3 separate regions of the Homo sapiens genome follow, and all the other regions are linked to region 3. The links are contacts of gene promoters, found by promoter capture Hi-C in blood cells and fetal thymus (Javierre and others, 2016). All regions are on one chromosome and are shown on one strand. The core of a region is centred on a gene start or on the middle of the fragment in contact, and the rest is flanking DNA. Distances in the headings are between cores, read along the strand shown.

The links. The method cuts DNA at HindIII sites, captures the fragments that hold promoters and counts their contacts. A CHiCAGO score of 5 or more calls a contact.
Region 1: a contact is called between a fragment that was not itself captured here and the fragment with the promoter of THPO in region 3, in 3 of 17 cell types (M2 macrophages, naive CD4 T cells and M1 macrophages). The highest score is 6.2, in M2 macrophages.
Region 2: a fragment that was not itself captured here is called in contact with the fragment with the promoter of THPO in region 3 in 2 of 17 cell types (megakaryocytes and M1 macrophages); the score reaches 5.2 in megakaryocytes.

What each region holds. Positions count from the first base shown.
Region 1 is chr3:184,729,832-184,732,614 of GRCh38, forward strand. All of the region lies in intron 2 of LOC107986163 (a long non-coding RNA gene), which reads left to right. Among named protein-coding and RNA genes, the nearest start is that of MAGEF1, 19 kb to the left of the region's middle. The HindIII fragment of the contact is 1,081 bases long and covers 872-1,952 here.
Region 2 is chr3:184,745,840-184,748,671 of GRCh38, forward strand. No RefSeq gene overlaps it. Among named protein-coding and RNA genes, the nearest start is that of LINC02069, 26 kb to the right of the region's middle. RefSeq lists an enhancer at 330-831. The HindIII fragment of the contact is 7,396 bases long and covers 1-2,832 here.
Region 3 is chr3:184,376,737-184,379,577 of GRCh38, forward strand. It overlaps THPO (thrombopoietin), which reads right to left and starts at 1,471. Exons shown (of 6, transcript NM_000460.4): 1 at 1,339-1,471. The HindIII fragment of the contact is 10,240 bases long and covers 1-2,841 here.

The DNA of each region.
Region 1 (2,783 bases), core at 162-2,661, 350 kb after region 3:
TTTATTGTATTATTTTTATTATTTTTTATTTTTTTATTTTTTCTGAGACAGTGTCTTGCTCTGTCACCCAGGTTGGAGTGCAGTGGTGCGATCTCGGCTCACTGCAAGCTCCTCCTCCCGGGTTCATGCCATTCTCCTGCCTCAGCCTCCCGAGTAGCTGGGACTACAGGTGCCCACCACCACATCTGGCTAATTTTTTGTATTTTTAGTAGAGATGGGGTTTCACCGTGTTATCCAGGATGGTCTCGATCTCCTGACCTCATGATCCGCCTGCCTCGGCCTCCCAAAGTGCTGGGATTACAGGTGTGAGCCACCGCTCCCGGCGGGGGTCTTCTTCAAATAACAGCCTTTCCTCTGGCCCTTTGGTCTGTGATCTGACTGACCCCCTGTGTCCTGGTCTGAGGAACACCAGCTCCTACAACTGACAACCACAAAGGGATGCTGCACTTTTTCCCCGTGGGTCTCTGGCAGGGTCTCACTCTGAGCTACAACTTTTTCTTTCCTTCACTCAGCAAATGTTTTCTGAAGGCCTGCTTTGTGCCAGATTCTGGGGTGCAGGGATGAGCAACGACACATTGTCCCATCCCACACTGATCTCAGGTGCTTTCTTCCTCAACTAAACCATATACCCTTCCTGGAGGTGACTTGGGGGGCCATCCCTCAGCAGAAGCCAGACTCCTCACTCTACCCCATTCCAAACCTTCCCCTCAGACCCACAAAAGATACTCAACTTCAGTCACCCTCTGCAGACTCAGATTTAGTACAAATGACTGGCTTTTGCAGTAGTGTGGGAAGAGCTGCAACAGGAGCATACAGAAGCTCTGGGAGCCCACGGGGAAGGGCAGCTGAACCAGCCTGGGGTGAATAGGGAAGCTTTCCTGGAGGAGGGGATGCCTGAGTGTAGTCCCAAGGAATGGCTATGATTTGGCAAAGGCAAAGGATGAGTGCATTGGTCAGGGTCCTAAAAGGGAACAGGCCCCCTTAAGTTAGGATGATTTGATGAGGGTTTATGCACAAAGAGGTTATTTGCAAAGGTTTAGGCAGAGTGTGGGAGAACAACACAAGATAGTACAGAAACTCAGGGTCAGTGGCAGCAGAGCTGTTTCCACCCCTAGGCCAGAAGACATGGGAGAGGGGCAGCCTGTACCCTGGAAAGAGGGAGAGTCGTGTCATTCAGGTCAGCTTCCCTCTAGGGAATCAGCCAGCCTGATGCAACCTTACAAGGAGGGAATCAATTGCCTTGACCTCATTCTTTCCTGTCTTCCAAACTCTTGCTGGTGGTCCCCATTGGCCAAACCCAACCAGGAGCCAGAGGGCACTGGAGCTGATTGATGTGATCTATACAGGGCAGACTTTGGGGCACAGAGCAGGCTGGAGAGTGGATCTGGCGTGGTAAGCAGAAGATATCCAGCATGCTGGGTCAGGGAAGGCCTTTCTAAGAAGAGGAGAACAATTTGTGAAGGCCCCATTCTTACACAAGAATGTGTAAGTTGGGGAAATGTTTTCTTTATGTCTGGAGTAGAGTGAGTAGGAATGGGGGCGTCCATCATGAAAGGCCTTGCATGTCTTTCTAACGAATGTGAAAATTTATCCCAAAGGCGATGGGAGCCACTGAAGCATTTTTGGCAGGAGGTGACCTGATCAGATTTGTGTTCTGAAATGATCACTCTCGCCCTAGTGTGGACGTGGTCTGGAGGAACACTTCAGACTAGAGATGGTGAGGCCTGAACCAAGACAATGGCGATGGAGAAAGAGGTGGATTGATTTGAGAAATGTTTAGGAAGTAGTCTCAAAAGGCGATGAAGGATTGAATGTGGAGGATGAAGGAAAGGGAGACGTCGAGAGCAGTGTCTGGGTTTCCACTTGAAGCTCAGGCTCAGGAGGGAGCGTGAGGGAGCAGGTTGCCTGTCCAGCTGTTGCTTCCTCGATTTTGCTTTCTGGATTTGGGAGAAAGCTTAGATTGGCCCTCATTAGCAGGACCTCAGGCTTTCAAGGGGGTCTTGGAGGGGCTTCCTAGCCATGCCACAGGTTGGCCTCCCTTGGTTGTCTCGAGAGCACGCCAAACTAGAGAGCAGGCGAAGTCACCTTTTGCTGCCACCCTGGGACCTACTGAGCCGGGACCTGCTCTCTCCCACCCCCTGCCCCTTCCCATATGGACAGGGGATGTGTTTTCTTTTAACTTGCTTCATTGCAGGAGCAAATGAGGTCCAGCTGAGGGGAGGGAACCAGCCATGGTGACAGAGCATGGGCTGTGTGAGCTTGGGTGAGAGTGGGGGCCCTGTCACCCTCAGTTTCCTTCCACTGGCTTTTCAGACAGCTGTGGTCCCTGTAGGCTCAGATTTCATCCCTAGCAATTCTGAAGAACCTGCTATCCAGTAACAGGTCCCATTCCTTGGAGTTCTTTACCTAGAAACCTGGAATAATTTTCTTTTGTTGCAGAGGAAAATGCTGAGGTTGTTCTTTCATGGTCTAAGAACTTGAGTAGTCATGGCAACGCATGAGGGTGGGGTGGGTGAGGTGGGGGCGTCTTAGCAGTGTTTCGTTTCAAATGCCAGATTAAAGGAAAAGCGTCTTTGGAGTTCGCCTCATTAAGACATAGCTCAGTGCAGTCTCGTTGATGGTTCTCCAGCTCATCATTTTACACATTACATTTTCCCTACATTTCCTCGCCTGATGGGCAGTCTTCTGGGACTTCTCCCTGAGAATTTTGGCTCCGAGACTTCTCCAAGAATTTCAGCTCATTTCTGGCAAGAGCGTTGGTGGGGGTGACTCTTTTGTTCCTG
Region 2 (2,832 bases), core at 158-2,657, 370 kb after region 3:
AAAATAGAAGCAAGGCCCATTGTGAGGCGACAAACAGGACTTTCAGATCAGAAAAAGCCAGGTGCTTGCTGTCAGCATCAAGACCTCCAGAAGTAAAAAAGAAGACATTCTTGGAGCAAAAGTAGAATGGACAAAAAAAGTGCTTTAGCACACTGCTTGGAGTTTGAAAACATTTTTCTCCACTTAAACAACCCTTCTGTCATTCCTTAGAGGTCATACCTGAAAGCCAAAGAATCAGGCTGAGGCCACATCATTGGGGTTGACAGCAGGGGTTCTCAGTTTATCCCCAGGGGTACTGGAAATGAATTGAATGTTGCAATCTTGCTACCGCGGGGCCTGTAAAGCACTCAGCCCACTCCCCACCCCGAGCACCCAGGGAGAATATTTTTAGCTGTCTTTGTAATACCCACGCAAATTGTTCTCCTCCTTGTCCACTTCAACCCAGTCTCTTATTTTCTAGTTCCCACCCCTTCTTCACGCCACCTCCCCATTCCACCCCCCAGGCCAGGAGTCTGGAATGCTATGGTGTTCCAGGCCCCTGAGTCAGGTGCAGCTGCAGGGACCAAGGTAGGTTTTGGCACCTGGGGAGAGGGGCAATTCTTGATGGCTGAGACTAATGGGATTTCCAAGACAGTCATGAAGCAGAGATAGAACCAGTGCCCAAGTCTAGGTAGGACAAGCCAGGAAGGATGTACTGGAGAGCGCCTGGGGCCAAGAGGGAGCCCGTATCTGGGGCAGAACAGAGCCATGGACACTGAACGGATGAGCAGGCAGTGCCTTGTGCGCAGCTCTTCTGGCCACAGGCAGGGCATGCGTCTAGGGCATAAGGGCCAGGCCAGGGGAGAATGTCCTCAGCTGTATGACTCCCTGGCTCCACACTCTGGCCTTGATGCAACTTCAGATTCTCCTACTCCAGTAATGCACTGGAACCTGCTTTGTCGATTTGCTGAACTCGATGCACACACCTACTCTCAACTCAGTAGGTTCTTCCCTCCCTTCAAAGGGCCTGTGATCATGGTAAGAGACATTCCTGCCACCTACCTTAGCCCATTGGTGCCCCACTAGGGGGACCACCTCACCCGGCCTCCCTGCTTGGCTGGGGCAGGGGCTGCTGGACACTTAACTCGGCATCAGGCACCATGCCCATTGAGACCTGAGCTCAGACAAACAGAAGGAGGCCAGCCTCCAAAGGATGGAAACCACTTATCTGCACAGAGCCAACATTTCCATTAATTTAGTACACTGAGACCTTTTTTCAGTGAAGTATTTAAAAAGAAGATGAGGCCGGGTGCGGTGGTTCATGCCTGTAATCCCAGCCCTTTGGGAAGCTGAGGCGGTTGGATCACCTGAGGTCAGGAGTTCAAGATCAGCCTGGCCAACATGGTGAAACCCCGTCTCTACTAAAAATATAAAAATTAGCTGGGCGTGGCTGTGCATGCTTATAATCCCAGCTACTCTAGAGGCTGAGGCAGGAGAATTGCTTGAACCTGGGAGGCGGAGGTTGCAGTGAGGGGAGATTGCGCCACTACACTCCAGCCTAGGTGGCAGAGTGACACTTGGTCTCAAAAAAAAGAGAAAGTGAATAGAATCTGTTTTTTGGCTGTGTACGTTAAGGAGGCACACAAGCAAACTCCTAAGGTTTGTCTGATTGAATATTTCACTTTACAGTGTATCTTCAGGTCACACCAATCCAGTCTCTGGCAGACCACTGGTGTTACAAGGCCATAGGCCTTATTTTAAATTATTATTATTTTCTATTATTAAGCAAATTCTTATTTAATAATAGAAGCAAATAAGTGGTCTGATTCTTTCAGGCCTAGGCTTGTGAGCCTGTGTTAATTTGCATGGTTGAGTTATTCATGCTGTATTACAATCTAGTCTATCAATTTCTTTTTTTTTTTTTTCAAGACAAAGTTTTGCTCTTGTCGCCCAGGCTGGAGTGCAATGGCACGATCTCGGCTCACTGTAACTCTGCCTCCCAGGTTCAAGTGATTCTTCTGCCTCAGCCTCCCGAGTAGCTGGGACTATAGGCACGTGCCACCACTCCCGGCTAATTTTGTATTTTTAGTAGAGATGGGGTTTCACCATGTTGGCCAGGTTGGTCTCAAACTTCTGACCTCAGGTGATCCACCCGCCTCAGCCTCTCAAAGTGCTGGGATTACAGGCTTGAGCCACCATGGCTGATCTAGTCTATCAATTTCCTACACATTTTCCCCTCCAGATTGTCATTAATACAGAGTAAATTAAAACTCTAAACCCGGGGGTGGGGAAAGGGGGTTAGAATGGGATTTGAGAACTGAAGGATGATCTCTCTACATCTTGCCCCAGTGTCCTGGACCCCAAGAATAGAAGAAAGCAGACATTGCCGCTCACCACTCACTGTTCTCAACTCTAGAAGGAGAGGAAAATGGGAAGATAGCACAGATAAACACACCAACTCCACCCAAATGACTCAAGTGAAGGCGCGTCTCAGAGTCTTGTGTTTTTCTGAAACTCAAGGCCTGCACAAGGAGGAGAGCTGTCCAGCTGCCTGTGCTCGAATGGGAACTTCATAAATCTCCAGAAAGCCCCTGACCCCTTCTCTTTTCACTCTGGCTCTATTTCCTTCTTTGCTGAGGTCCCCATTTGTCAAAGCAGAAGGGAATTACATCAGTCAGTTTTGAATCAGTCAAAACAGAAGTAAGTGGACAGCCTTCTTTGGAAAGGAAGAAACAGTGGTGGGATTTTTTTTCTAACCACCCTCGACTTATTAGGCAGCACAAAGCATGCTAGAGAAGGGTAGCCAGGAGTGTAAAGTACATGAAGCGGCAGCAATATGAACACTGGATGGAA
Region 3 (2,841 bases), core at 221-2,720:
TGGGAGGCTGAGACAGGAGAATCGCTTGTACCTGGGAGGCGGAGGTTGTGGTGAGCCGAGATCGCACCATTGCACTCCAGCCTGGGCAATAAGAGTGAAACTCCGTCTCAAAAAAAAAAAAGAAAGAAAGAAAGAAAGAAAGAAAGCAAGAAAGCATATGGTGTCTCCTTTTTGTCAGGACTCCTCAGTGAATCGGACATGGATTTGGTGCCACCTACCCCTGCTGAGAGCAGCAGGACATGATATGTATACACACATATCTTAATTAGCCTTAAATTCTGAGCAACCTTGGTTGTTAGGTCAGAGAAAATCTGGGATGGGGATAGAGAAGGAAAGTATTGTGGCTTCAGCCTGGAGAAGAGAGTGGAAAATGGGATGCAGGGCCTGGGTGAGGAACTGGCAAACGGGCGCAATATGTTGAGGGGTAACTTCTGCGGTGGGGAGTGGGGCTGGGGAGGGGAACTGCACAAAGCTGTAACTGGGACCACTAGAGGTCAGGATTAAAAGGCGGTATGGGAGAAATTAACCTCTATTCTTTCCCTATCTACCCCCACACATAAAGCCACTGGAGCTTTTCTCTGGACTCCAAGTCCTGAAATACTCCATTATCTGAGGCCAAGAGATGGGCTAACAGTTCTGGGACTTCCTTCCTGAGACCAGCTGCCCAGGAACGGGCACCTGCTGGGTGATGCCCACCTTAGGGGCTTACCTTGTCTTAGGCGCCCACTAACATATCTGTCTCATAGCTCACACCTGCCTCCCTGCCCCCTTGGCAGAACCCCTTCCGGTTCCTTCACAGGACCCCCCACATGGCTTCCTCCTCCTTTCACAAGTTGTGCAAAGAGGCTTGCACCTGATTCAATATTGGGATTTCCTGTAGGTCTGTCAACATGAGTGGGCCCTCCTCCCATTACCCTCTCCTTGCGCCCTGGCTTGCCTGGCCCAGCTTCCCCAGCACCAGATTCAGAACCTTAAGCTAACGAGGAATGACCAGCTAAGAATGGGGATTGGGGCTGTGTCCATCTTACTACTGTGTTTGCTAAGCCCTAAGTGCAGCTCCCTCTCTTATTTTCTCCCTGGGCTCATGTCCCCTTTCCTTAGGGCCAGCCAGGGCTGTGCTGTATTCCACCAAGTAAGTGATCAGTCCCTCAGAAACCAGCACCCCACCCCCTACCCCTGCTCTGCCCTGCTCCTCCCATTCTGGGAAGGCTACACTCTTCTCGACAAAGGTCAGTGCCTGTAGGTTCCAGTTTGCCTGCCCCTCCCCCAGCTGGGAGCCCATTTCTCTTTGCTGTCCTTTCTACCCTCACATAACCCCACACCCTGCTGGCCACTCACCGGGTGGAGAAGGGCTCCAGGACCCAAGTGCACAGCAGGCAGCCCTCTGGGGAGCAGATGGGTAGGAAGACATGTGGCGGTGGGGCACAGCCCCTCCACAGCAGCAGGTCATACGCCTGCCTGGGCCACTTCTGCCCAATCAGAGAAGGGAGCCACCAGACACTGGTGAAGGCCCCCGGAAGTGACGCCTTCTCTTCCCTGGAGCCCCTGCCTGGACCAGGGTCCACTCCTCCACCCACACACACCACGGAGAAGATTTGGATAGGGGGATCCATCTTTTCCTGGACATGGGCAACCTGGGACCTGGAGGGGGACAGGAGCAGAAGTTTTTTTCCAGGAGGAATCTGGCAGGACATTTGTGTTGCTGGGGAAGAAGCACAGAGGTCTTGTTTAAGATTGGTGGGGTTTTCACTCCCTGGCTATCCAAATTTCTTTTCCCTGGACATCATACCTGCTGCTGAAATCCAACAGGATGCTTGCTTTCCTGCTTTTCTTTCTGTAATCCCCTAGGGAGTCCTATCTTGTCATTCCCCCTTTCGAAGTGGGAACACGGATATTGCCCACATGAGAGAAATCTCCTGTTATGGGTTGGTGTTATGGGGAAAGGGTTTGGACGGGTTGAGTGGACTGTCAGGTGCGGGGCACATGTATGTGCGCACACGTGCACTGGGTTAAGCCTGAGCTTAGGTGCTCGTCTGCTGGGGTCCAGTGGCTTAGATGGCTACACACACAGACCTCTGTGCCCAGGGCCCTCCTTTGCTTGTTCTGTCTCCGTCTTCCATCTCCTACCGTTCCACATGTGACAAGAGGAATAACCAGGCCCATGTGTCCCTGTCTTAGGAAAGACAGCTGCTGGACCTCCCCCGCAAATACCTCCCTGCTGGCCCCCCTTTTCCTTTGGCCCTGGCTCTAGCTCCTTTGCTTTCTTCCCAGTCCCAGTCTCCCCACAGTCTCTGTCCTCAGGGGCTTCCTGGCCTGACCTTGATCCCATCATCCCCCTGTCCCCCAGAACTTCCTCAGGCTCTCTCCTGTTCCTCCTCCCCAAGGATGGGCATGTCTGCTGAGAAGTGTGGCCTAGATCCTGGAATTTTCCCGTCCAGCCAGACGAGATGTCTCCCAAGATTAGGAAGGAGGGTGCTGGGATAGCTGGGAGGATAGTGGGTGTGTGTGGGAGGGAGAGACAGGAGACAGGGAGGCAGGCATGACCAGGGAACCAAGAGAAAGGAGGCTGGGAGTGGGCTGGAGAGGCAGAGGGTCCCTTGGGTGAAGGAAGGGGGTGAGAAAGCAAGAGGGGACTGTCGAATGCGCCTGAGGATAAGTTACAATGAGAGGGAGATACTGTCACTCCACAGAAGGGGGAATGCTGCCGGTTTCTGGCTAGGTCCCTGTCCTGGGTAACACAAGAATGAGGAGCGACCTCAGAGAGAAGGTAGGGAGGCAGGCTAGGCAGTGAGAGAGGGTGGTGAGGGTTTGGGGGGCGCTGTGGGCCCAGGCAGGGGGAGA